Regions from separate parts of the Homo sapiens genome. Here all the other regions are linked to region 1. Evidence: promoter capture Hi-C in 16 types of primary human blood cells and fetal thymus (Javierre and others, 2016). All regions are on one chromosome and are shown on one strand. Each heading gives the region's core, a stretch centred on a gene start or on the middle of the fragment in contact. The rest is flanking DNA. Distances are from core to core; before and after follow the strand shown.

What was found. The method cuts DNA at HindIII sites, captures the fragments that hold promoters and counts their contacts. A CHiCAGO score of 5 or more calls a contact.
Region 2: a fragment that was not itself captured here is called in contact with the fragment with the promoter of PCDHB12 in region 1 in 1 of 17 cell types (M2 macrophages); the score reaches 9.0 in M2 macrophages.
Region 3: a fragment that was not itself captured here is called in contact with the fragment with the promoter of PCDHB12 in region 1 in 1 of 17 cell types (fetal thymus); the score reaches 7.1 in fetal thymus.
Region 4: a fragment that was not itself captured here is called in contact with the fragment with the promoter of PCDHB12 in region 1 in 1 of 17 cell types (M2 macrophages); the score reaches 6.1 in M2 macrophages.

The regions. Positions count from the first base shown.
Region 1 is chr5:141,205,898-141,212,549 of GRCh38, reverse strand. PCDHB12 (protocadherin beta 12) reads right to left here and starts at 3,831. Exons shown (of 1, transcript NM_018932.4): 1 at 1-3,831. The coding sequence starts at 3,642. The coding sequence ends at 1,255. It also overlaps PCDHB@. RefSeq lists an enhancer at 1,810-2,399. The HindIII fragment of the contact is 7,272 bases long and covers 1-4,847 here.
Region 2 is chr5:140,774,321-140,780,972 of GRCh38, reverse strand. No RefSeq gene overlaps it. Among named protein-coding and RNA genes, the nearest start is that of PCDHA1, 8.5 kb to the left of the region's middle. The HindIII fragment of the contact is 642 bases long and covers 2,908-3,549 here.
Region 3 is chr5:141,568,917-141,575,568 of GRCh38, reverse strand. DIAPH1 (diaphanous related formin 1) reads left to right here. Exons shown (of 28, transcript NM_005219.5): 15 at 423-602; 16 at 1,361-2,077; 17 at 3,529-3,643; 18 at 4,133-4,141. Among named protein-coding and RNA genes, the nearest start is that of DIAPH1-AS1, 14 kb to the right of the region's middle. The HindIII fragment of the contact is 1,623 bases long and covers 2,512-4,134 here.
Region 4 is chr5:140,933,231-140,939,882 of GRCh38, reverse strand. All of the region lies in intron 1 of PCDHA1 (protocadherin alpha 1), which reads right to left. All of the region lies in intron 1 of PCDHA2 (protocadherin alpha 2), which reads right to left. All of the region lies in intron 1 of PCDHA3 (protocadherin alpha 3), which reads right to left. The region is part of intron 1 of PCDHA4 (protocadherin alpha 4); the gene reads right to left. It also overlaps PCDHA5, PCDHA6, PCDHA7, PCDHA8, PCDHA9 and PCDHA10, and 5 more genes. Among named protein-coding and RNA genes, the nearest start is that of PCDHAC1, 10 kb to the right of the region's middle. The HindIII fragment of the contact is 499 bases long and covers 2,909-3,407 here.

The DNA.
Region 1 (6,652 bases), core at 2,582-5,081:
GAGTTACTGGCACTAGTTTATAATATATTTAGAACACAACTATGCAAAAATTACCTATTTTAAATATAAGAATCGGTTATATATTTTTAACAAACAATGCTTCTCCTTAACTCCCCAAAATTTCTAAAAATTTAATGATCATCTATATTTCTCTTTGATATTACACATTTAAATCTATTCTTTTTCTTAAATTTTCCTGATTCAGCAGTGCAGTATAGGTAAGAAAAACTGCTAAAAACAAACTCTCAAATCAGGAAAATATATTACAAATGTAAGCATGGGTGACTCTGGAAATATACTACAATGTAAAGAAAATAATTAACTAATAATGCCATCAAAATTATGTACTATTCCTAATCAGGACCATTAATCTTTTCTGTGAAATGATAGTTATATGTTCAGGAGACAATGAGAAGGCATAGGTTGCTCTTTCAATTTTGTTTTTTACTTAAGATTTGGGCAGATCAGAGCATTAGTAATAATAGCTGAAAATTTACCCAGAAAAGCAAGATTACTGGTTTATAAGAAAATGAAATCATAGATAAAGTTTATTTCTAAATAAAGATTGAACAGTAGTATGAATACGATAAAAACTTTTCTTCTCTTTAGTTAGGCAGAAACTTGCCAGGTGATATCCAATGACAAAAACAGTATGGAATGGGAGCAAAGTCACTGACTTAGAGTCAGGCAGATCTAGGATGGATGCTCAGTTTTGTCACTTATTAGTTAGTGGACCTTAGTGAACTTACTGAATCTCTAAGACCGTCTATTTGGTCATTACTAAAATACCATGTCACATATGTTTCTTCTGAGATTAAAAGTGTGAAAATAGTGTATGATTCATAAAACAACTTTTTTTAAAAAAATAAAGTTTAAAAAGGTACACTACAATCTATGCTTCTGAAACTAGGGTAGGTATACTCGAACAGCATTCTAATCAACTCAGAAAACAAAAGTCACAGTAAATATTGAAAACAATGGAAAGCAATTTAAAATATCTCAAACAAGACTTACCACTTAATAGACTTTATATTAAGCATAATTGTTTGACATAAACCATTACACATGCACATTTCCTGCTTTGTGAAGTGTTCTTGGTACTAAATCTGTATCCTTTTCTATGTAAAGAAATTTATTTCTTGACTTGAAGAGTATGTATTTGAAGTGATCAAAAATACTACTTTACAGGCACCTCACGATAAGTTCCTAATTATAAATGTATTCATAAACACAGGTTTTATTTTTCATTCTTTATCAGAAACCCAAATTATTCTGAAATGGGGGATTTTCTTCGACTTCACTACCTGTGCTCTGGGGTAGGAAGTTGGGGATAATTGGTTTCAGAAATTTGAACTTATTTGACCTGGAGCCTCCAGTCACACACACCTCATAGTGGTAGCTCTGGGACAGGGTCCCGGTGCCACTCACGTCCACCAGATGTCCTGGAAAGGGGCCCTCAGGCACCGAGCAGCGACCGACCGGGGCCGCCCTGCTCCTCCTGCACAGCCGCACCGCCACGAACAGGAGCACCGAGAAGAGGAAGAGCGACGACACTGAGGCCAACGCCACCACCAGGTAGACAGTGAGCGAGTCGGCCTGGGCCTGGGCCGGGGCCGCCTCCGGGAGAGGCAGGTAGGGCTGGGAGAAGCCGTCCACCAGGAGCACGTGCAGCGTGGCGGTGGCCGAGCGCGGAGGCTCGCCATTGTCCTTGACCAGCACCACCAGCCTGTGCTTGGCCGCGTCGCGCTCGCTCAGCAGCCTGGCGGTGCGCACCTCGCCATTGTGCGCCCACACGCCGAATAGCCCGGGCTCCGTGGCCTTGAGCAGCTGGTACGACAGCCAGGCGTTCTGGCCCGAGTCACCGTCCACCGCCACCACCTTGGTCACCAGGTAGCCCGGCTCGGCCGCCCAGGGCACCAGCTCGGTGCAGGGCGCGGAGCCGTTCTGCAGCGGGTACAGCACGAAGGGCGAGTTGTCGTTGGCGTCCAGCACCAGCACGCGCACCAGCGCCTCGCTGCTCAAAGCCGGGGAGCCGTGGTCTGTGGCGCCCACGCGGAACTGGAACCCCTGCAGGGCCTCGTAGTCCAGCGACCTGAGGGCAAACAGGTGGCCGTTGTCCGCGTTGATGGAGACCAGGGAGGCGAGGGGCAGGTGCGGGTCCTGGGACGGCAGCAGCGAGTAGTTGACCTGGGCGTTGGTGCCCGAGTCTCTGTCTGTGGCGCTGATGCTGCCGATGTGCAGGGCGGGGCTGTTGTTCTCGCGGACGAACAGGGCGTAGGAAGTTTGGGTGAAGGCGGGGGCGTTGTCATTGACGTCGGAGACCAGCACGGTTATGTTGTGCTCGGTTTTTAGCCTGGGGGTCCCCAAGTCGGTGACGGTGATGGTGATGTTGTACTCGGCTCTGCTCTCTCTGTCCAGCGGTCTCTCTGTTTCCAAAGTGTAGTAATTATTTACCGAAGATTTTAGCACGAATGGGATGTCCTCCGGGATAGAACAAACCATCTTTCCGTTGTCCCCAGAGTCTCTGTCTCGTATCCTGAAAACCATAACCACAGTCTCTGGAGTGTTTTCTGGGATTGGACTGGTAATTGATGACACAGTGATTTCAGGAGCGTTGTCGTTTACATCCATCACCTGAATTCTGACTGTAGATTTTCCAAAAAGTCCTCCCCCATCTGTGGCTTGAATGATTATTGAGTATGACTCAATTGCTTCAAAATCCAAAGGTGCTGTTAAAGTAATGTCACCAGACTTTTGATTAATTTCAAATGTCTTGCGAATATCTTCTGAGGCATGGGAAAAGGTATAGGATAGTTCACTGTTTGTTCCAGAGTCTAAATCCCAGGCTGAGACGGTCACAACCAGGGAGCCAAGGATGCTATTCTCCAGAATCTTCACCTCATAAAAAGCCTGCTCAAACTCAGGGGAGTTGTCATTAATATCTACAACCACCACCCTGACCAAGGCAGTTCCAGACCTGGGAGGGGACCCGCCATCCAGAGCAGTGAGGATGAAACTGAGCTCCGGGCGCTCTTCATAATCCAGCGCCTTGTCCAGAACTAACTCAGGGTATTTCCTATTGTCTGGATTGACTCTTATTTTAACGTGGAAATGAGAGTTCGGATTTATTGTGTAGCTTTTTACAGCATTGATTCCTACATCTAAATCCTTTGCACTTTCAAGCAAGAACACAGCACCAACAGGACTGTTCTCTGGGATTTCTAAGAGCATTTCTTTTTCCAAGAAGACGGGAGAGTGATCATTTATATCCCTGACCTGGAGCTCAATTTGTAAAAACTGCGTGGGGTTTTTCATTAACACTTGGAAATACAGCACACAAGGCTCATTGGAGCCACAGAGCTCCTCCCTGTCTAGCATTTCTCTCAGGAGCAAATCCCCAGTGTTTGTGTCCAGCTGCAAACACTCTTTGTTATCATTAGAAACCACCCGAGCCCCCCGCGAAGACAGCTCACTCACCTCGAGTCCCAGGGTCTTTGCCAAATTTCCTACAAAGCTCCCGCTCTGCAATTCCTCCATCACCAAAAAGTTCCCAGTTTCAGAGCCCGCCTGAGACATTCCCAGCAAAACAAAGAAAAGCAGGACTTGCCTTATCTGCAGAGTGCCTGCCCCTCCGTTTTCCATAGCTTCTTTTCCAAAACCCCAAAATCTTCTTGCAGAATTGCCTCAGCGCCTCTTCGCAGTTGTGGGAAACGTGCCTCTGATCTGTCTACCAAATCCTCGGAAGCCTGAAGATTTTAACCTTGTTGAATGGCTTCTAGGTTCTCCCTTAAAGGATTGTTCTTTCTGTCTTCCCAGTTCTCCGCGTGTACTGGATAACAGGGTCTACAACATCCTCCAGGGTAATTTTTTTCTTGATATTATCCTGCAGCGCCACCACGCGTCTCCACAGATTTTCACAGTTTGATGAACACTACCTAAATTTTATTTACATAAATGTCCTCCAGAAGCAAATAAATATTGCGTTTAAATAATTCCTTCTGTTGAAGTAATTAAAAATATATTTTATCTTCCATAATAATCGTTTTATATTCTTTATAGTTTGTGATGATGATTTTGTTTTAAAGCATTTATTCAGTGTCTTTCCCCACTCTTCTCACAACCAAATGTGTTCAGTTGTGGTAAACACAGATACAAGATGTGATCCCTGGCTCCCAGGAATTCATAGTGTTTCTGAGACAATTGTAAGCCTGAAACAAGCAGGGTATAAGTGATTGTTAAGCTGAATGAAATTCTATTACTACTTGGCTTTCCTTACGTGATAAGGTAAAGGAAAGGTCATCTCAGAAATCCTTTCTGAAGTTATGAAACTGGATTAACCATGAGATGAGGCATATATAGGTCAACACAACAGCATAAAAAGGCACTTCTGTAGATTTCCTTAATAGCAATGAATTGTGAACAGGCAGAAAATGAAGCAAGAGATTGGGGTGGAACATGTTATGTAAACCCATCATTTAGTTCCAGTTTTTCATAATTTACAAAAAAATTCATAAGTACACAAGCATGAGCAAGTTAGTTTAATTTAAAGCAGACTCTTATTCCTAAAGCTGACTTGCCTTAGGTTCCCAAAATTTATTGTAGCCACAACTGTAGCTATCTGTTTTCTCTTTCAGCCCAGGAAGAGAAAGTAAGAGTCTATCCCTAAACATAGAACAAAAACCTAACTTTCACTCTAATTAGACCAAGTAAGATCATGTGTCTGCCACTGAAGCAATCATTGTTTCAAGAGGTATAGAATTATAGTTGGAGATTTTAGTCCTAGAATCTAAAGACCTGTCTCTGGCCATTACTGTGTTTTAATCCTGTCTGGGACCACCTCTTAAGCTTGGGAAGGTTTCAGTCCTAGCCAAAGTACCTCATTGGTACAAAATGAGGGAGACTGTTTGCAACAGATGCTAAGGGCTCATCAGTGATATTCACTATAGAAAGTCTTAAAGTGCACTAAGAATGGATGGGAGAAGAATCCAACAAGTCTGCATTTTAAAATGTTAAATTCAATTAATATTCTTAAAAATGTAAGCTGGATACATGGTTGAAATAGTAATTGGTACAGAAGGGTAAAACTTGAAAAGTAGATGAATTGAGCACACACAATTAACCTCTCTTTTTAAAAAAAAATATGCACTAAAATGGCAGAAAAGTAATTAAAATGGTAGGAACTAACAAAGATTAAGAATACACAAGTGAACACATACATTTTTCTATGACAGAAAGCAGGTGGAAGAGCAATTAACTTAGCAGTTCCAAAAAGTGCCCCTAAAGTAAAGTTCCTGCATTGAAGATACTCACAAGAAACATAATCTCTTTTAAGCGCAAGATCTGGAGGAACCAGATGTTTAAGAAGACTGAAGTCAGTTAAGGATGGAAAAAAGTTATTAGTTGGAAGTATGTGTAGAGGATAATTGAATTCTCTGTTCTTCTCATCACCCTACATAGATGGAAACATAACTCACAGCCAGAAAATAGAAAGTTTATTCTCTGGAGAAATTTAATGGGACTTTCTCTAGTCTTGGGGATCTAGGCACAGCTGAGCACAAGTGTGAGGTGTCAAACTGAAAATAGGGAGAGTAAGCAAACCTTTGCATTTTGCATGGTGAGACTTCTAATCCCTTTTCATGCAATACTCTTAGACTGTAGGACACAAAGTGTATGCCTGACCCCTAGTCTATCCCCATAGTGTATATTGTAGAATTCTAACCTGGAGAATATGAAAGCCCAAATGAAGACACATATTAATATTTGGCATCTCATAAGGTAATAGACTTATCCTAGCATGGTTATATTAGAATGAAGCCCTGCCATCAACAGGTACTGTTCGCTCACAGAGTTGATTGTCAGCATTTTGATATATCATCCTTCTAAAATACGAGAAGATAGCCAAGGCATTTGAGGAAATGCCTGCAACATAACATAGAAAGACCAAAACTACCACCATCGCTACCATCAAGAAAAAAAAAAGGAACAATAATATAGAAAGCAGAAGAAAGCCTTTGAAAATGTCTGGTTAATATTCCCAGAGAAAGAAAATCTAATAAAAGCTAATACTTATTTAGTATTTACTCTATGCTACTCATTGTTCTAAGTGCCTCATAATGCATTTATCCATTTAATCTAAATAGTAGCTGTATGAAGTATGTATTTATCCACTTAATCTAAATAGTAACTATATGAAGTACATATTCCTATTGTAAGATGAAGACTAGATTAGGACTTCAGTGCTTTTTACTAGCTATATTACCTTGGACAAGTTCTTAACTCCCCTTAGACTCACTTTCACTTTTAAAATGGATATATAATAATGATACTGCCTAATGCATTTTTAAAGAAAAGATTAATTATAAATGAGAGAAAATATTACATTTATAAATCTATGACAGGATGCCATGAAAAACATTCAGAGAACCAAAAACAACTCTTAAAAGTAAATATTTTTCAGTCATAAAGAAAAACTTATACATAAAACATTGAGTGATTAAATAAATTGTCCAAAAAATGGAATGAGAGGCAAAGAGAAAATAAGAAAGGAAAAATGGCTTATAGTCTTATAGAGTCAATCTAGGAGGTCTAATATTTAACTGAGATTTTCATTGAAGTGAGAATCCAGAAAACTCAGAGGAGAAATTATGAGTAA
Region 2 (6,652 bases), core at 1,979-4,478, 430 kb after region 1:
AGAACCAAATGAAAATTTTGGAAAAAAGTACAATAACCAAAATAAAAACCCAAATAGAAGAATGGAGTGGTCAAAAAAGAGAATAAGGAAACTAAAAGAAAAATAGAAAATACTGAATCTGGGCAGGGCACAGTGGCTCACACCTGTAATCACAGCACTTTGGGAGGTGAAGGTGGGAGGATTGCTTAAGCCCAGGAGTTTGAGGTTATGGTGCAGTATGATCATGCCACTGCACTCCAGCCAGGGCAACAGAGCATGACCCCATCTCTAAAAACATAACAAATAAGTAAATAAATAAAAATTACGCAATTTGAAAAACAGCAACAAAATAGACTAAAAGAATAAAAAAGAACAGTACCTTGGGGACATGTGGGAACTTAACAAAAGCTCCAACATTCATGTCAGTGGAGTACTGAAAGAAAAGGCAAAGGAGACAAGGCTAAAAATAACTCAAAAAATGGCTAAAAAGTTCCCAAATTTGATAAACAATATAGAGAGGTGAGTGAACTCCAAAGACTCCACACCAAGGCATATAACAGGCAAACTTTTGAAAATAAATGAAAAAGAAAAAATCTTAGGCTAGGTGTAGAGGCTTGTGCCTGTAATTCCAACATTTTGGAAGGCCAAAGTGGGAGGATTTCTTGAGCCCAGGGGTTCAAGACCAACCTAGGCAACATAGTAAGACCTTGTCTCTACAAAAAATAAACAAAATTAGCTGGACATGGTGGCATGCACCTGTACTCTCAGTTACTTAGGAGGGTGAGGTGGGAGGATCACTTGAGCCTGAGAGATCAAGGCTGCAGTGAGCCAACACCATATCACTGCACTCTAGCCTGAGTGACAGAGCAAAACCCTGTCTCAAAAAAAAAAAAGAAAGAAAGAAAAGAAAAGAAAAAGAAAGAGAAAAAAAAACTGACTAAGTGAATCAAAAAAAGACCCAATTACATGCTGCCTATGAGTATCTCACTTGAAATATAAAAATACAGGGAGATTAAAATTAAAAATGTAAAAGCTATATCAACAAGCAAAATGTCTTGAGCATCCCCAAAACCTGTTGCCATGACCTTTGCTTTTTGTGTGTGTTGGGACCTTTGCTTTTGACCAGCCTGCTTTTACTTTGACTAGGCCATTTGCACCTCTTGGTAGCATTGCTTTGATTGTGCTTTGTCTTCAAGATCATACTGCTAAAGCCATGTGTCATCTCCTGTTACAGTTCTCCAAAGAAAGTATTCAGAATCTTGATCCCATTGTTTAAAATTTCCATGGAAACTCAGTTCTCATCTGCAGCTGATCTAGGTGCAATGGTTTTGGACCCATTGAGGAGAAATTTGCTCAACTTTAATTTTTTAGTCAGAAGTGATCAAAGGAAAGCAGAAGCATCTATCAAATAGAGTTCAAGACAAAGATAACTACCGGTATATAGAGGAAAATCAGGCCAGGAGCGGTGGCTCATGCATGTAATCCCAGCAACTTGGGAGGCCAAGGCGGGTGGATCATTTGTGGTCAGGAGTTCAAGACCAGCCCGGCCAACGTGATGAAATCCCCTCTCTACTAAAAATACAAAAATGAGCCTGGCGGTAGTGGTGCGCGCTTGTAATCCTAGCTACTTGGGAGGCTGAGGCAGGAAAATCACTTGATCCTGAGAGGTGGAGGTTGCAGTGAGCCGAGATCACACCACTGCACTCCAGTCCGGATGACAGAGTGAGACCCTGTCTCAAAAAAAAAGAGAGAGAGAGAGAGAGGAAAATTATAAATGATAAGGAGTCAATCCACCAAAAAGACATGGCAACCCTAAATGTGTATGCACCAAACAACAGAGCTGTGAAACAAAATCTCATAGAACTAAAAGGAGAAACAGATAAATCCACAATTATAATTGGAGACTTCAACAATTCTCTCTCAACAAATAACAGAACAACTAAAAAGAAAATCAGCAAGAATATAGAAGAACTCAGTAACATCACTAACCAATGGAAACTAATTGACATTTATAGAACACACTATTCAACAATCACGGGCTGAGCACAGTGGCTCACACCTGTAATCCCAGCACTTTGAGACACTGAGGCAAGCAGATCACTTGAGGTCAGGAGTTCGAGATCAGCCTGGCCAACATGGTGAAACCCTGTCTCTACTAAAAATACAAAAATTAGCCAGGTGTGGTGGTGCATGCCTGTAGTCCCAGCTGCTTGGGAGGCTGAGGCAGGAGAATCACTTGAGCCCGGGAGGTGGAGGTTGCAGTGAGCCAAGAGCCAAGATCATGCCACTGCACTCCAGCCTGGGCAACAGAGTGAGACTCTGTCTCAAAAAAAAAAAAGAGAGAGAGAGAGAGAGACTCCATCATCTCAAAAAAAAAAAATTTCAAAATACACTCTTCCAAGTGCCAGTGAAACATATCTCAAAACACATCTTGCCCTGAGTCATAAAACAAGCCTCAGTAAATGTAAAAGACATGAAATCATACAGAGTGTGTTCTGTGACCACAATGGAATCAAAGGAGAAATCAATAACATAAAGATAAAAGAAAAATATTCTAACACTTGGATGTTAACGTATCTCTAAATAATCCATGGGCCAAAGACGATGTCTCAAAGGAATAAAAAAAAATACATGGTATGAGGTAAAAAAAATTTAATTTAAAAAATAACACCAATACTAATCTCTCCCAGAAAATACAAGAGGTCTTCAAAAAGTTCATGAAAAATGCGTACTATGAAAAAATATGCATGAATTTAAATAAAGTTTGCATCATAATAAACTTGTATTAACTTGTTATAACATGTCTGAGCAGGATCTAGTTTAAGCCACAAAGAAGGATAGGACTTCCGTTTGAAAAGACTCCCGATTAGAGCAACATGAATTCACTAAAATTGAAGCAAGAACAAACATCAGATTTATGGTGAAGCTTGGGTGGAAGAATAATGAAATCATTGACACTTTATGAAAAGTTTATGAGGACAATGCCTCAAAGAAATAAGTAGTGTACAAATGAATAACTTGTTTTAAGAAGGGATAAGATGATGTTGGAGATAAAGCCTGTAGTGACAGGCTATCCATATCATTTTATAAGAAACAAATTAGTCCTGTTCATACCGTAATTGAACAGGGCCAATGATTAACAGCAGATACACTAGGAAATACCATAGACATCCCAGATGGTTCAGCTTACACAATTCTGACTAAAAAATTAAAGTTGAGCAAATTTCTGCTCAATGGGTGCCAAATTGCACCCAGATCAGCTGCAGATAAGAGCTGAGTTTCCATGGAAATTTTAAACAATGGGATCAAGATTCTGAATACTTTCTTTGGAGAATTGTAACGGGAGATGAAACATGGCTTTAGCAGTATGATCTTGAAGACAAAGCACAATCAAAGCAATGCTATCAAGAGGTGTAAATTGTCTAGTCAAAGTAAAAGCTGGCTGGTCAAAAGCAAAGGTCCCAACACACACAAAAAGCAAAGGTCATGACAACAGGTTTTGCAGATCTTAAAGGTATTTTGCTTGTTGACTTTCTGGAGGGCCAGAGAACGTTTTAAGAAAGCCAAGCTTTAGCAGAAAAATAACCAGGAAAGCTTTACTATAGAGTTCTTCTCCACCACAACAACGCTCATGTTCATTCCTCTCAACAAGGGCAATTTCACAAGAATTCTGACATGTAAAATCACTGGGCATCCACCATACAGTCCCAGTTTGGTTATTTCTTTTTTTTCTTTTTCTTTTTTTTCGAGACAGGGTCTCACTCTGTCGCCCAGGCTGGAGTGCAGTGGCACGATCTTGGCTCACCGCAACCTCCACCTCCCAGGTTCATGTGATTCTCCTGCTTCAGCCTCCTGAGTAGCTGGGATTACAGGTGTGTGCCATCTTGCCCAGGTAATTTTTATATTTTAATAGAGATGGGTTTTCACCACGTTGGCCAGGCTGGTCTCAAACTCCTGACCTCAAGTGATCCACCTGCCTCTGCTTCCCACAGTTCTGGGATTACAAGTGTGGGCCACCATGCCCTGCCCCAGTGTGATTATTTCTGACTTTTCTTTATTTCCCAATCTTAAAAAATCTTTAAAGAGCATCCATTTTCCTTCAGTTAATAATGTAAACAATTCTTCATTGACATGGTTAAATTCTTAGGACCATCAGCTCTTTAGAGACGGACTAAATGGCTGGTATCATCCCTTATAAAAATGTCTTGAGCTTGGCGGGACCAAGATGGCTAACTAGAAGCAGCAGCAGTTAGAGGCTCCAATTGAGAAGAAACAAAACAGCATGTCAATCCTGCACTGGCAATCGAGGTATCCAGGTTTTATCATCAGGACTGACTAGGCAGTTGGTGTGACCCATAAAGAGCAAGAAAAAGCAGGGTGCTGCGTCGGCCCACATGGAGAAAGGGCAAACCCCACCCCCAACCAAGGAAGGTGGTGAATGAGTATGCTATCTTGCCTGGGAAACCGTGCTTTTTCCACAGATCTGCGCAACCCACAGATCGGAAGATTCCACTCGTGAGCCCATACTACCAGGGCCTTGGGTCCCAACCACAGAGCTGCACAGACTCTCAACAGCCACTCTTGCTGGAATCTGCCTAAAGGTAATGAGTTCCCGGAGGAGAAGCCGCCATCATCACTGCAGCTGCCTGCTGTCTAAGCCATCTGAGCTTCCAGGGGGAGAGATGGCAGCCATCACTGCGGCTGTCAGCTGCCTAAGACAACTGAGCTCCCTGAGGTGGGGGCGGCCCTCATCACTGTGGTTGCTAGCTGCCTAAGAAAACTGAGCTCCCTGCGGGAGGGAAGGCAAACATTACTCCAGCTGCTAGCTAAGTACACTGCTACCTGACACTGAACTGGGGGTAGCGGGGAGGGTGGCAGCCATCACTATAGCTCTAGACCACATTTTTCCCCTCCTGGAGCCGGAGAGACAGGACAGCTTGGTTCCAAGAGGTAATCCCCACAGTGCAGTATACAGGCTGTGGCTGAAAAATGCTGAAAACTCAAAAGGCCAGAGTGCCTCTTCTCCAAATGATCACAACACTTCTCCAGCAAGTGCACAGAACTGGACAGAGGTACCATCCTGATACCAAAACCTGGCAGAGATACAACAAAAAAGGAAAACTTCAGGCCAGTATCCCTGATGAACACTGATGCAAAAATCCTCAATAAAATACTGTCAAACTGAATCCAGCAGCACATCAAAAAGTTTATCCACCATGATCAAGTCTGCTTCATCCCTGGGATGCAAGGCTGGTTCAACATACGCAAATTAATAAACATAATTCATCACATAAACGGAACTAATGACAAAAACCACAAGATTATCTCAAAAGATGCCGAAAAAGCCTTTGATAAAATTCAACATCCTTTCATGTTAAAAACAATCAATAAACTAGGTATTGATGGAACATATCTCAAAATAGTAAGAGCCATTTACGACAAACCCATAGCCAATATCATACAGAATGGGCAAAACCCAGAAGCACTTCCCTTGAAAAGCAGCACAAGACAAAGATGCCCTCTCTCACCACTCCTATTCAACATAGTATTGGAAGTTCTGGCCAGGGCAATCAGGCAAGAGAAAGAAATAACGGGTATTCAAATAGGAAAAGAGGAAGTCAAATTGCCTCTGTTTGCAGACAACATGATCCTATATCTAGAAAAACCCATTGTCTCAGCCCAAAAGCTCCTTAAGCTGATAAGCAACTTCAGCAAAGTCTCAGGACACAAAATCAATGTGCAAAAATCACAAGCATTCCTGTACACCAACAATAGACAAGCAGAGAGCCAAATCATGAATGAACTCCCATTCACAATTGCTACAAAGAGAATAAAATACCTAGGAATACAGCTAACAAAAGATGTGAAGGACCTCGTCAAGGAGAACTACAAACCACTGCTCAAGGAAATAAGATAGGACACAACAAATGGAAAAACATTCCATCCTCATGAATAGGAATAATCAATATCATGAAAATGGCCACACCGCCCAAAGTAATTTATAGAGTCAATGTTATTTCCATCAAACTACCATTGACATTCTTCACAGAATTAGAAAAAATGACTTTAAAATTCGTATGGAACAAAAAAAGAGCCCATATAGCCAAGACAATTCTAAGCAAAAAGAACAAAGCTGGAGGCATCACGCTACCTGACTTCAAACTATACTACAAGGCTACAGTAACCAAAACAGCATGGTACTGGTACCAAAACAGACACATAGACCAATGGAACAGAATAGAGATCTCAGAAATAAGACCACACATTTACAACCATCTGACCTTTAACAAACTTGACAAAAACAAGCAATTGGAAAAGAATTCCCTACTTAATTAATAGTGCTGGGAAAACTGGCTGGTCATATGCAGAAAATTGAAACTGGACCCCTTCCTTACACCTTATATAAAAATTAACTCAATATGGATTAAAGACTTAAATATAAAACCCAAAACCATAAAAACCCTAGAAGAAAATATAAGCAACACCATTCAGGACATAGGCATGAGCAAAGATTTTATGATGAAATCACCAAAAGCAATTGCAACAGAAGCAAAAATTGATAAATGAGGTCTAGTTAAACTAAATACCTTCTGCACAGCAAAAGAAACTATCATCAGAGTGAACAGGCAACCTATAAAATGGGAGAAAATTTTTGCAATCTACCCATCTGACA
Region 3 (6,652 bases), core at 2,074-4,573, 360 kb before region 1:
CAAGCAGTTCTCCTGCCTCAGCCTCCCAAGTAGCTGGGATTACAGGTGCCCACCACCATGCCCGGCTAATTTTTGTATTTTTGGTAGAGGCTAGGGTTCACCATGTTGGACAGGTTGGTCTCGAACTTCTGACCTCAGGTGATCCACCTGCCTCGGCCTCCCGAAGTGCTGGGATTACAGGTGTGAGCCACTCCGCCCAGCCAAACCTTGATTTTAAGGTCAGAATCATGGTGCTTTTTTCCCCCGAGCATGGCCTGGATTTATGAGCTCTGTAAATCAAGTACTGGCCCAGAACAGGAGGCAGTGGGGGGATTCCAGCACCCCCAGGCAAAAGAGGAGGTAGGGAGAATTATGGGTAATAATACTTGTGCTTCTTACTGAGATGGAGAGCTTGCTGGGAGCCTGATTCGTTTTTTCTCTAGTTGGACTCAGAGTTAACAGCCCGACATGAGCTACAGGTGGAAATGAAAAAGATGGAAAGTGACTTTGAGCAGAAGCTTCAAGATCTTCAGGGAGAAAAAGATGCACTGCATTCTGAAAAGCAGCAAATTGCCACAGAGAAACAGGACCTGGAAGCAGAGGTGTCCCAGCTCACAGGAGAGGTAATGCCTGAGCAGGGAAGGCAGAATGACCTGTAACCTCAGGATGCACATGGCTTGGAACAGGAGTCAGTCATCTCGCTCCTAGGGAGGGTTCAGCTACTAATAGGTAATCTAGTTACATGGTGCATATTTTAAAAATAATATACTGGTTTTTGGTTTGTGTTGGGGGTAAGTAATACATAAGACAGAAAATCTGGAAAATACAGAAAAACATTAAGAATAAAGTAAGTTTCATTACCACCCAGAAATAAAAGTAATAAGTCTCCTAATAAATTAGGAATAAAAACTAAACTGTTAAAAATTGACTAATTTCCTGTTATTTTAGTCACCTCTGCACAGATTTATCCTTACACACTCTCTCTGCAGTAGTAAATACTTAAATGATCTTTGATGTCTGATAACTTGATTACTTATGTGGTTATATAATCATCTGTGTAGCACATATATTAGTTATATAACTAGAACATTTAATTTACTTGACCTTTACATTTTCTAATCAAGGGAGGGTTTAACATAAAGGTTGAAATTGTCTTCTTAATACAAAGCATGCTGAACTAAGAACATGAAAACCTGAATTCTAGTTTTGGCTCTGCTGCCAAGCCGTGTGACTTTAGGTGATCATGTCATCTCTCTGACTCCTCTCAGTTCCTCCATTTGTAACATGAGAAGTTTGGATTAAGTAGTTTATTAGGTTCCTTCCAGTCCCAGTAGTCCCTGAAGTGGGGTGAGAAGTACTCACATTGATGTTATTTCTGTAGGTTGCCAAGCTGACAAAGGAACTGGAAGATGCCAAGAAAGAAATGGCTTCCCTCTCTGCGGCAGCTATTACTGTACCTCCTTCTGTTCCTAGTCGTGCTCCTGTTCCCCCTGCCCCTCCTTTACCTGGTGACTCTGGCACTATTATTCCACCACCACCTGCTCCTGGGGATAGTACCACTCCTCCTCCTCCTCCTCCTCCTCCTCCTCCTCCACCTCCTTTGCCTGGGGGTGTTTGCATCTCCTCACCCCCTTCTTTACCTGGAGGTACTGCTATCTCTCCACCCCCTCCTTTGTCTGGGGATGCTACCATCCCTCCACCCCCTCCTTTGCCTGAGGGTGTTGGCATCCCTTCACCCTCTTCTTTGCCTGGAGGTACTGCCATCCCCCCACCTCCTCCTTTGCCTGGGAGTGCTAGAATCCCCCCACCACCACCTCCTTTGCCTGGGAGTGCTGGAATTCCCCCCCCACCTCCTCCCTTGCCTGGAGAAGCAGGAATGCCACCTCCTCCTCCCCCTCTTCCTGGTGGTCCTGGAATCCCTCCACCTCCTCCATTTCCCGGAGGCCCTGGCATTCCTCCACCTCCACCCGGAATGGGTATGCCTCCACCTCCCCCATTTGGATTTGGAGTTCCTGCAGCCCCAGTTCTGCCATTTGGATTAACCCCCAAAAAGCTTTATAAGCCAGAGGTGCAGCTCCGGAGGCCAAACTGGTCCAAGGTAAGAGTTTCTGTCTATTTCTTCACCAGTCAATCTTTTTTTTTTTTTTTTTTTTTTGAGACGGAGTTTCGCTCTGTCGCCCAGGCTGGAGTGCAGTGGTGCGATCTCGGCTCACTGCAAGCTCCGCCTCCCGGGTTCACGCCATTCTCCTGCCTCAGCCTCCCGTGTAGCTGGGACTATAGGCGCGCGCCACCACGCCCGGCTAATTTTTGTATTTTTAGTAGAGACGGGATTTCACCGTGTTAGCCAGGATGGTCTCGATCTCCTGACCTCGTGATCCGCCCGTCTCGGCCTCCCAAAGTGCTGGGATTACAGGCGTGAGCCACCGCGCCCGGCCCACCAGTCAATCTTAAGAAACAGTTTCAGTTTTCTACTTTGTATTTTGTGCATGGATGGGCTACGCCTTAAGGCTTTCATCTTTCTATCTTTAAGCTTCACTCATGCTTATGTTTATTCAGGAGATATTAGGCATCTTCTTTATTCCATACATCACCACGGAGAGTTCTGTGAACCCTGTATTCTGAATTTAATCTTAACTTAATGTTTTTTGCCTTTTCTCTGAGGCTGTGAATACCATGGTAACACACAGTTTGATAATAGTCATTCACCAGTCTGCAAACTACTGATAATTGTGCTGATCCCAAAGTCATGGATTTATGAATCCACTCTCCTATCCCAATTCCGCAGGATGTGAGTTACACAGGCCATTTTTTTTTTTTTTTTTGAGTTGGAGTCTTGCTCTGTTGCCCAGGCTGGAGTGCAGTGGCATAATCTCTGCTCACTGCAACCTCAGCCTCCTGAGTAGCTAGGATTACAGGCGTGTGCCACCATGCCTGGCTAATTTTTGTATTTTTAGTAGAGATGGGGTTTCACCATGTTGGTCTGGCTGCTCTCGAACTCCTGACCTTGTGATCCGCCCACCTTGGCCTCCCAGAGTGCTGGGATTACAGACGTGAGCCACCACACCTGGCCTACATAGGCCATATTTGCATGCACAGTATTGTTCCCATGATGTGTTTGAGATGCCTGTGATTCTGAGTGAGTTAGCCTTTTTCTTCTAGAAACCAAGTTAATATAAAGGACCTTAGGGATTTGCTCATAAAATGAGCAAATTTGGCACAGTTAGCCAAACTGGTGGGAGAAATTTAATGATGAGCAAGACTTCTCTGAAATAAAGCCTTAATGGTTATGAAGCTAGAGGATTTGGAGTTAGGAGGAGGATACGTAGTATATATATGAATCTAGTTCTTGAATAATCACCAATTAACAGATGAACTGGAAGTATTCTCTCCTAATCCCACTGCAGCTATTCTGTGCCTCAAGTTAGTCTTATTCTAGTAAGACATTGCTGATAATCAGCCAGCCACCTATTTTACAGCCTCATCCGTTTTCTAGGACGGAAAGTACAGGGCTCAGTTTACTAATTCTTAACACCCTGCCTTTATCCACAGCTTGTGGCTGAGGACCTCTCCCAGGACTGCTTCTGGACAAAGGTGAAGGAGGACCGCTTTGAGAACAATGAACTTTTCGCCAAACTTACCCTTACCTTCTCTGCCCAGACCAAGAGTGAGTACCTTCCTCTTTGATGCAAAGGTCCAGTGTAGGGCTTAGAATATTTTTTCATTAGGTTTCCTATTCCCTTCCCTTCCCTGGGTGAAGATAGAAAGGGTATGTTGGATGGAAGACTGATGGATTTTCCCATTCAAAAGAAAGAAAAGATGTTTTTGTATTAAATATTATGGAGTTACTTGGTTTGGGAAAGAGAACTGTTGTATGTAGGTATTTTGTATCAGTATAACTTGTTAGGGATATGAGATTAAAGTGACAGAGCTTGATTTGGGCCCATTTTGATACTTTTGAACAGATTCTGGCACTGCCTTAAGGTGCAGTTTCCAGTTCTAAGTACATAATTAATAAGGGTTGGAAAGAGTCTTTAACAGTTTGGGTGACTGAGTGACTGTCTACAGTAACAAGAACCATATGTGATTCCTTTTCTTCCTTCCATTTCTTTCCAATATTGGATGCCTTCTCCCTCCTGGCACTTTGCTCCTGAAGCTTCCAAAGGTAAGAATACAAAAGAGCCTTTTAGTTTGGTCTCTTGAATATTAGAGAAAAAGATGAAATAGATATAAAGGAATTTCTCATTAGAAAACTGAGACCAGAGATTGAGGGTTGACTTGTCTTTGCTAGGTGTTTTTTGTTTTTGTTTCCTCCCCTGGAGTTCAAAATGACCAATAGCTTTGGCATTAACTAATAGGGAGGAAAGTTTGCTTCCCGTTAAACTACCACATACTTAATCTCTTTAGAAGGTGAGGGACAACGTAAGCAATAATACTATTACCTTACATTTGTGCTGTTTTACAATTTTCATAGTGCCTTAACATATATGACCCTATTTGATATGCAGAGAAGCCTTATGAGACAGGCAGGATGTGTATCATCTCCATTCTGTAGCATATATAGACTCTGAACAGTTAGGTAGCTTTCCCAAGGTTATGTGATCAGAACCAGGAGTCTTGACTTCTGGTCCATTTTTTCTATATAAATTCTTGATTTTCTTTTTTAGCCTTCATATGGTTCCTTTTATTTTACAAGAGCTGATCTACTTTGCCCTCTTCTTTCTTGACTTCCTAATTCTTGTGGTTTTGTGCTACCTTGTGATAGGGTACTTATAGTTACTTCCCCTGAGATAGTATTTGAAAGATTGTGTCATGTATAATGACAATTATAGCCCAATAATTTCATATTTTTATCTTCTTCCAGCATTTTTGTTTGTTTAGAGGCTTACTATGACCCTAGTGATGAAAATTAAGTGCAACTTTGGAGCATTTATTTTCCCCACCTCCCCCTAGTCAATTAGTATTTTTAAAGGCAATTCCTTTTTTTTTCCTTAAGTGATCTGATGGAAACAGGCTGCACTTTGTTCTAATAAGGAGTCTAACAGATTGTGAGGTGCCTTGGTGGCCCCTAGTTACATATGTGTGTGTGTGTATCTAGGAGTATAAGACCATAATGCTCAGATCTGTCTTGTTGCCCTGTCATTCAGGTCAAAATGGCCTTTTCCTCTAAGAAAATTGTCACCTTCCATGCCAAAGTCCAGCCTAAGGGATTAATTCCACTCTCTTAATTAAAATACTGGGATGGTAACCACATATACTGTATTAGTCTATCAATAAAGACTAGTTGACAAAGTCAAAATTAAATGATTTTCTAATTTGTAAGTTCACAGAATCCCTATGTTGGCCTCTGGCATAAGTTTCTTTCTTGAGTCTGGGCTCTGCACTTTTAGTGCCATTGCAAATGAATACTGACTGGGCCCCTTTTCTCCCCCCACCCCCATCCCCATCTTTTTATTTGGTGCATTTGTATTCCTATTAATTCTAGTTGGGTTTTATACAGTTTAGTGGTCTTCCTTGGCATTATATTCTCATTATGAATTGGGATATGGTAGTATTTTTTAAAATACCAAAGTGGCCCCCTTAGTCACAAAAGGCCAATAAAAAGAAAACTTTAGTAAAAGATCTTTGTGCTTCTTATTTAGAGTTTAGGTTTTTGTCAGATAAGGAATTTCAAGCTCTCAAAAATTGCAAGCACTCAGAAGACCCAGATCTCCTCAGTATGACAGCAAGTATACTTTACTTCAGTGCTTTAAACATCTCTAGTATTTATATTTCAGAAAAAGATCTTCATCCTTAACTACTTTTATTTTTTTTATTTTTATTTTTATTTTTGAGACAGAGTGTTGCTCTGTCGCCCAGGCTGGAGTGCACTGGCGCGATCGTGCTCACTGCAGCCTTCGCCTCCCGGGTTCAAGGGATTCTCCTGCCTCAGCCTCCTGAGTAGCTGGGATTACAGGCACCCACCATCATGTCCAGCTAATTTTTGTATTTTTGTAGAGATGGAGTTTTACCATGTTGGGCAGGCTGGTCTTGAACTCCTGACCTCAGGTGATCTGCCCACCTTGGCCTCCCAAAGTGCTGGGATTACAGGCATGAGCCACTGTGCCCGGCCATCCTTACTACTTTTTAAAAGTAATTCTTGAATACTGAATTGAATATTGAACCAGTTCAGTTTGAATGCTGAAGCCAGTGTCAGTTACCAAGTCTCTCATTCATAGTCTTGATATTGATGATATAATTAAATGATAGATAACTACTCATTATCAACCTTGTAAATATTTCATCTTCCAGATGAAGTAGTGACATAGATTAGATAACTTTTTCCAAACTGTATAAAAAGTGTCAGAATTCAGACTCCAAACAGTGACTCCAAAGTCCTTGCTCTAGCCTTCTACTTCTTAGGAAGTGTGTATGTACTTGCCCTAAGAGCCTCTGAAAGCTTAGATCCAGACAAAAGCTGCAAGAAAGGGGATATGCCGCCTTCAGGAACCACTTCATTCATTCAGACGCAAATGTCCTTGAATTGGCAGTGACTGAGTAGAAAAAAGGGAACAATAATAGATTAAAAAAAGTAAGTGAGATACTAGATATTTAGGGTTATAAAAGAGAAGGCATATTCTGACTGTATTCAACTCTAGCAAAACTAATCCAGTTGAAGAAATAAGACATGTTTATC
Region 4 (6,652 bases), core at 1,909-4,408, 270 kb after region 1:
CACAACTAGCAAAGATGACCTAATGGACATATACAGAACACAACAACAAGCAATGTCAGAATACTGCTTTTTCTTGAACATGCAGAACATTTATAGAAATTGACCATTCACACCCTGAAATACTATATAATGACAATGAATGATACACAGCTACACACAACAATATAAATGTATCTCACAAATGATAATGTCCAGCAACACACACATACATACAAGTTGGTTATTCCTGTTATTGAAGTTTTCAGTACCCTTATTGATTTTCTTTTGTCTCCTTGTTCTGTTTTTGAGCAAGGTATGTTAAAATTTTCCATTTTGATTAACCAAACTAATACAACAAGAAATAGAGGCTCTGTATAATTCTATAACTATTAATGTTATAGACATTGAATTTATAATTAACATTCTCATGAAGAGAATTCTAGGCCTATAAATTTCACTCTTAATTCTTCAAATGCTTATGGAAGAAAAAAATGCTGATTTACACAAACTTGCTATGATCTGAATGTTTGTGTTCCCTCCTCCTTTGCAATCATAAGTTGAAATGCTAACCCCTAAGATTATGATATTAGGAGGTAGGGCTTTTGTAGAGATGATTAGATCACGAGGGCACAGCTCTCATAAAAGAGGTTCCAGAGAGCTACCTTGCTCCTTCCAGAAGGTGAAGAGACAGCAAGAAGGTGACATTCTGTTTTATGAACCAGGGAGTGGGCCATTACCAGACACAAATCTGCCAGGACCTTGATCATCAACTTTCCAGCTTCCAGAATTGTGAAAAATAAATTTCTATTGTTTTTAAGCCACCCAGTTTATGCTATTTTGATATAGCAGCCCAAATGGACTAAGACAACTCTTCCGAATAAGTAAAAGAAAAGTAACACTTCTTAACTTACTATATAAAGCCAGGATAGCCTTGATGCCAAACTCCGACTAGAGCATTATAAGAATGGAAAGTTAAAAGCCAATTTCTTGTGCGTGTGTGTGTGTGCGCATCTGTGTGTGTGTGTGTTGCTTCTTAACTTTTAAGTTCAGGGGTACATGGGCAGGTTTGTTATAACGCAAACTCATGTCACAGGGGTTTGTGGTACCGATTATTTCATCATTCAGGTACTAAGTCTAGTACCCAATAACTATGCCTTTAAAAATAATTATTTTTTTCTGTAGAAACGCGTTTCTATCATAAACATATATTTAAAAACTGTAAAGAAAATGTTAGGAAACTAAGTCTAATGATATAAAGAAGGATTATACATCATAAGCAACCTGAGTTTATTCCAAGAATGCAAGATTGGTTTATCATTAACAAATCAACCAATATAATGCATGCTATTAATAAAAGGATAAAAATCCATATTATCCATTCAATAACAGAAAATATGTGATAAATTCAATGCCTATTCATGATTTTTAAAAAACATAATAAATTAAAAAACAAAGGGAACTTAATAAATCTGATAAAGGATTTTTGCAAATAAACCCAATCAAACAATGTATTTCATATTAAATATTTAAAAACTTCCTCTCTGAGACCAGGAATAAGACAAGATTATCCATTAACATTACTTCTATTCAATTTTATACTGAATTTCATAGGCAATGACAGAAAGCAAGAAAACTATGTGATTAGAAAGTTTTTAAAAGACCAGGCATGGTGGCCTATGCCTGTAATCCCAGCACTTTGGGAGGCTGGCGTGGGAGGATTGCTTGAGCCCAGGAGCTCCAGACTAGCCTGGGCAATGTAGTGAGACTCTATCTCTATTTTTTTAAAAAAAGAGAGAAAGTAAAAAATACAATAATAAAACTAACATTATTTGGGAATAGCATGACAGTATATGTAGAAAACCCAAAATATAAAAATATGAGATTTTACTATTTAGCAAGAACATTGGATACAAAGTTAACATAAAATCAGTATTATTTCTATATACTTTCAACAAAAGCCAATTATCAAATTAAACTTTTTTTTTTTTTTTTGAGACGGAGTCTCACTCTGTCGCCCAGGCTGGAGTGCAGTGGCGCGATCTCGGCTCACTCCAAGTTCCGCCTTCCAGGTTCATGCCATTCTCCTGCCTCAGCTTCCCGAGTAGCTGGGACTACATACGCCCGCCACCACGCCCGACTAATTTTTTGTATTTTTAGTAGAGACGGGGTTTCACCGTGTTAGCCAGGATGGTCTTGATCTCCTGACCTCGTGATCCGCCTGCCTCAGCCTCCCAAAGTGCTGGGATTACAGGCGTGAGCCACCATGCCCTGCCTTTCTTTTTCTTTTTAGATGGAGTATCACTCTGTTGCCCAGGCTAGAGTGCAGTGACGCGATCCCAGCTCACTGCAACCTCTGCCTCGCAGGTTCAAGCAATTCTCCTGCCTCAGCCTCCTGAGTAGCTGGGATTACGGGTATGTGCCAACATGTCCAGCTAATTTTTGTATTATAAAATTAAACTTTTAAAATAGCATTAAAATATCAGCTATCTAATAAAAGTTGTGCAATACCCCTATATACACATACACACACATAAACATTAAGATAAAATAATAAAATAAATGGAAGAAGCCGGGCGCGGTGGCTCACGCCTGTAATCCCAGCACTTTGGGAGGCCGAAGCGGGTGAATCACGAGGTCAGGAGATCGAGACCATCCTGGCTAACACGGTGAAACCCCGTCTCTACAAAAAATACAAAAAATTAGCCGGGCATGGTGGCGGGCGCCTGTAGTCCCAGCTACTCGGGAGGCTGAGGCAGGAGAATGGCATGAACCCGGGAGGCGGAGCTTGCAGTGAGCCGAGACTGCGCCACTGCACTCCAGCCTGGGCGACAGAGCGAGACTCCGTCTCAAAAAAAAAAAAAAAAGATAAATGGAAGAATATACCTTGTTAATCGGTTGTCTGTCTCAATATTGTCAATGTTAACAAGCTTCATATTTTTATAGATTCAATAAAGATCAAAATAAGATATTTTCAATATACCCCATATTTTCTACAGATTCAATATAGTGCCAATTAAAATCAAAGCAGGGTTTTTTAAAATAGAAACTGAGAAGCTGAATCTACAATTTATATAGAAATGCAAAGGGCCAAAAATAGCTAAGTTAATCTTGAAGCAGAATAACAAAGTGAGAGAACTTACACAATTAGATATCAATACAAATGAAAAGTTACTATATTTAACACAGAATGTATTGGCACAAGAATAGACAAGTTGACCAATGAAACAGAATAGACAGTCCAGAAACAGAATATATAAAGTCACGTTGCTTATGACAAAGGTAGCACTGCACAGTAGCAGCGAGGAAAGTAGGCAATCTAACTGGATTTACAAGTGGAAAATATAAATCTTGACTTCTACATTGCACTATATTCAAAAGCAATTTCAGGTAATTTAAGATCTAAATGTGCAAGTTAAAACAAGAAAGCTTCCAGAACTACAGCAACCACTAAACAGATGTGGTTATTTAAGCTTAAATTAATTAAAATTAGTAACATTAAAAATTGAGTAGCCCAGTTTCACTAGCCACATTTCAAGTGCTCAGTAGCTACACATTCCATATATGCAGATAGAGAAAATTTATAGCATGTCAGAAAGTTCTATTGGATAGCAATGTTATAGAAGAAAACACAGGAATATATCTTCATGACTTGAAGCAGGATATGTTTTCTTTAAAAGGATAGAAAGAATACTAAATAAAAAAGACAACTTTGGCTGGGCGTGGTGGTTTAGGCCTCTAATCCCAGCACTTTAGGAGGCCAAGGCGGGCAGATCACTTAAGGTCAGGAGTTCGAGACCAGCCTGGCCAACATGGTGAAACCCTGTCTCTACTAAAAGTATAAAAATTAGCCGGGTGTGGTGGTGGGTGCCTGTAATCCCCGCTACTCGGGAGGCTGAGGTGGGAGAATCGCTTGAACCCGGGAGGCAGAGATTGCAGTGAGCCAAGATTGTACCACTTTACTCCAGCCTGGGCAACAGAATGAGAATCTGTCTCAAAAAAAAAAAAAAAAGATAATATTGATAAATTGGAGCTCATTAATTGCTAATCAAAAGACACCATTAAGCAGTATGGAATATGTGTAAATACTATACTACTATGAAATAATCTCGTTTATATTTTTAAGTGAAAAAACTCAAAGTGGGGAAGAATGTGTATTGTATGGAATAATAGATACTAGACTTCTCTAAATATATTTTGTTTTATAAGTTTATTTTGGAGCCATGTAAATATTTCACATAATTATAAAAGAAAATTAAAATTTAAAAAGCAAGCCCTAAATTTGAAAGCGACTTGAAAAAAGCCTAGCTCTGTATCTAGCTGGTGGCTTAACTACACAGAGAGGAACTTTTCCAAGATACTTTAAAACACAATAATTTGACTGTACATGCCTACTGGGCATTTGTAAGGATGTGCCTTATAAATGAAAAGAATGACAAAAACTTAAACTGCTACAGTATCATATTATTTCTGTAGTGCTGAAATTGTTTTCTAAGTCCATTGTTTGAGTCCCGTGGGATAACAAATGAGTAATTCTGTTGACGTTAATGAAAACTGGGATTTGACGTATGGGAGAAATAGGAATGTAAGATTGATGAAGTTAAGTAAAAACCTCGGAGTGCTGAACTTTATTAGATTAGTATAAACATGTGATGTATTTTATCTTTTAAAAAATAGACATCCCTTAGCTCAGTAGCTGAAGATACCTAGAAACAGCAACTGACCCAGCAGCAATAAGCACACCTGTTGTTGAGATTATATCTCTAAGTATCATCTTTCACTAAAAATAAGTGAAAGCTCTTTGAAAAATGGCTGATTCTGGGAAAGGAAATGTACAAGATAATCTGAACATCTTGTAATACCAGAAATCAAGGAAGCATTCAAAAGACTATTAAGACTCACATGAAAAGGATTCAGGGTGTTATCACTGGGGAAAAGTGGGTGACAAGCACATGGGATCTCTCTATACTAGTTTTGTAACTTTATGTGAATCCATAATTATTCCAAAATAAAAGGTTTAAAACAAGATACACAAACACACTCACAAAGACTCAGGAGCAAAGCTGAACAGTTCCCAACTTGCCAAAGTTAGCATAATTTGATCATTAAAAAGATAATTGACATGGATTGGGCCATATCAAATATGTTTAAGTCAATGAGTTCATAATGACACCTAAAAAAGGCCTTGGTCCTTTTTGTAAGATGGCCAGGAATCAATTCATTGTTTTGAATACTGCTAAACAAAGGGGAAGAATCAAACATTTATCCTGCCTTTCCTGTGTGAACTGTACCTCAGGCTAATCAAATAGTTGAAGACCCATTACAGAAATGTTACAATTAATTAAAAAAAAGAAGAAATGATAGAATTAGAACGGTAGCTCTCGAAGTGTGGTCTATGGACCCTTTGGGTGTTTATGAGGTGAATATAATTTTCAAAATAATGTTAAAACATTATTTGCATTTTTCACTATATTTACACTTGCATTGATAATGCAAAAGCATTGGTGGGTAAAGCTGGCCACCATAGAACCACAGAAGGAGTCAAAGCAGTGGCTCCACACTGTACTGGTGGTTATTACATTCATGATTGGACATTTGCAGTAAGAAAAATACCAGTAAGAATGCCCTTGATGAAGCACTGATTATTATTAATTTTGATAAATCTCCACAATTAAGTACAAATCTTTTAAACATTTTGTGTGAGGAAATAGAAATGAAAAGTATGTTTAGAGTACTTCTGTTGCACACTGAAATATAAACATATAAGGAAGGAAATAAATTAATAAAGTATGAAAATTAATAAAATAGAAAGCAAACATACAACAAAGCGAACCCAAAACACCAAAAGTTAGCCTTGGAAAGACTAATATCATTAATAAACTACTTCCAAGTCTAGTCAAGAAAAATGAGAGGTGACACTAACACCAGGATTGAAAAGGGAAACATCACTACAGATCCTGCAGATGTGAAAAAAAGTCACAACAGGACATTATAAACAACTTTATGCCAAAATATTCAAAAGTACAGATAAAACTAACATATATCTGAAAAAATTAAAGGTACAGGAATGAAATAGGAGCAATAAAAATACAAAGAAATTTGATCTCAATTAAAATTTTCCTACAAAGAAAACTGTAGGTACAGAGAGCTTCACTAGTGAATTCTACCAAATATTTAAGAAAGCTGTATCACCAATCTCAGTAAATGTGTCCGAGGAATAGGAAAAAAAATGTGAGAGAGACAGAGAGAGAGACAGGATTTCCAACTTGTTTAACAGGGCCAGCCTAACCTAATAAGAAAAGAAAAAGACAAATCAACCTAAAAACCCACTATTAAGACTTCTTAATTGGTTTTTATTTTATATTAACATTATTTTGAGTTTAAACAAAACAGCTGTAGTCTTTGCTTAACAATTCTAAAGAATAACCATAATGTGTTTGAATTCAGAGTATATTTTGAAGGTATGTCATTAGAGTGCCCCTATGAACACAGAATATCTGTAGATGGTAACCAGATGGCTCTAGGAACAGCCAAGGAATTTGGGATGGGTTAGAAATAAAGTGTTTATCTTTCTCTACAGCACAGGAGAATACGAGATTGCATATTTATTTCCAGATTCCAAAACAAGTTCCAAATGAATATATAATAACCTTTTGTGTTTATAGTCCTTTCTTTT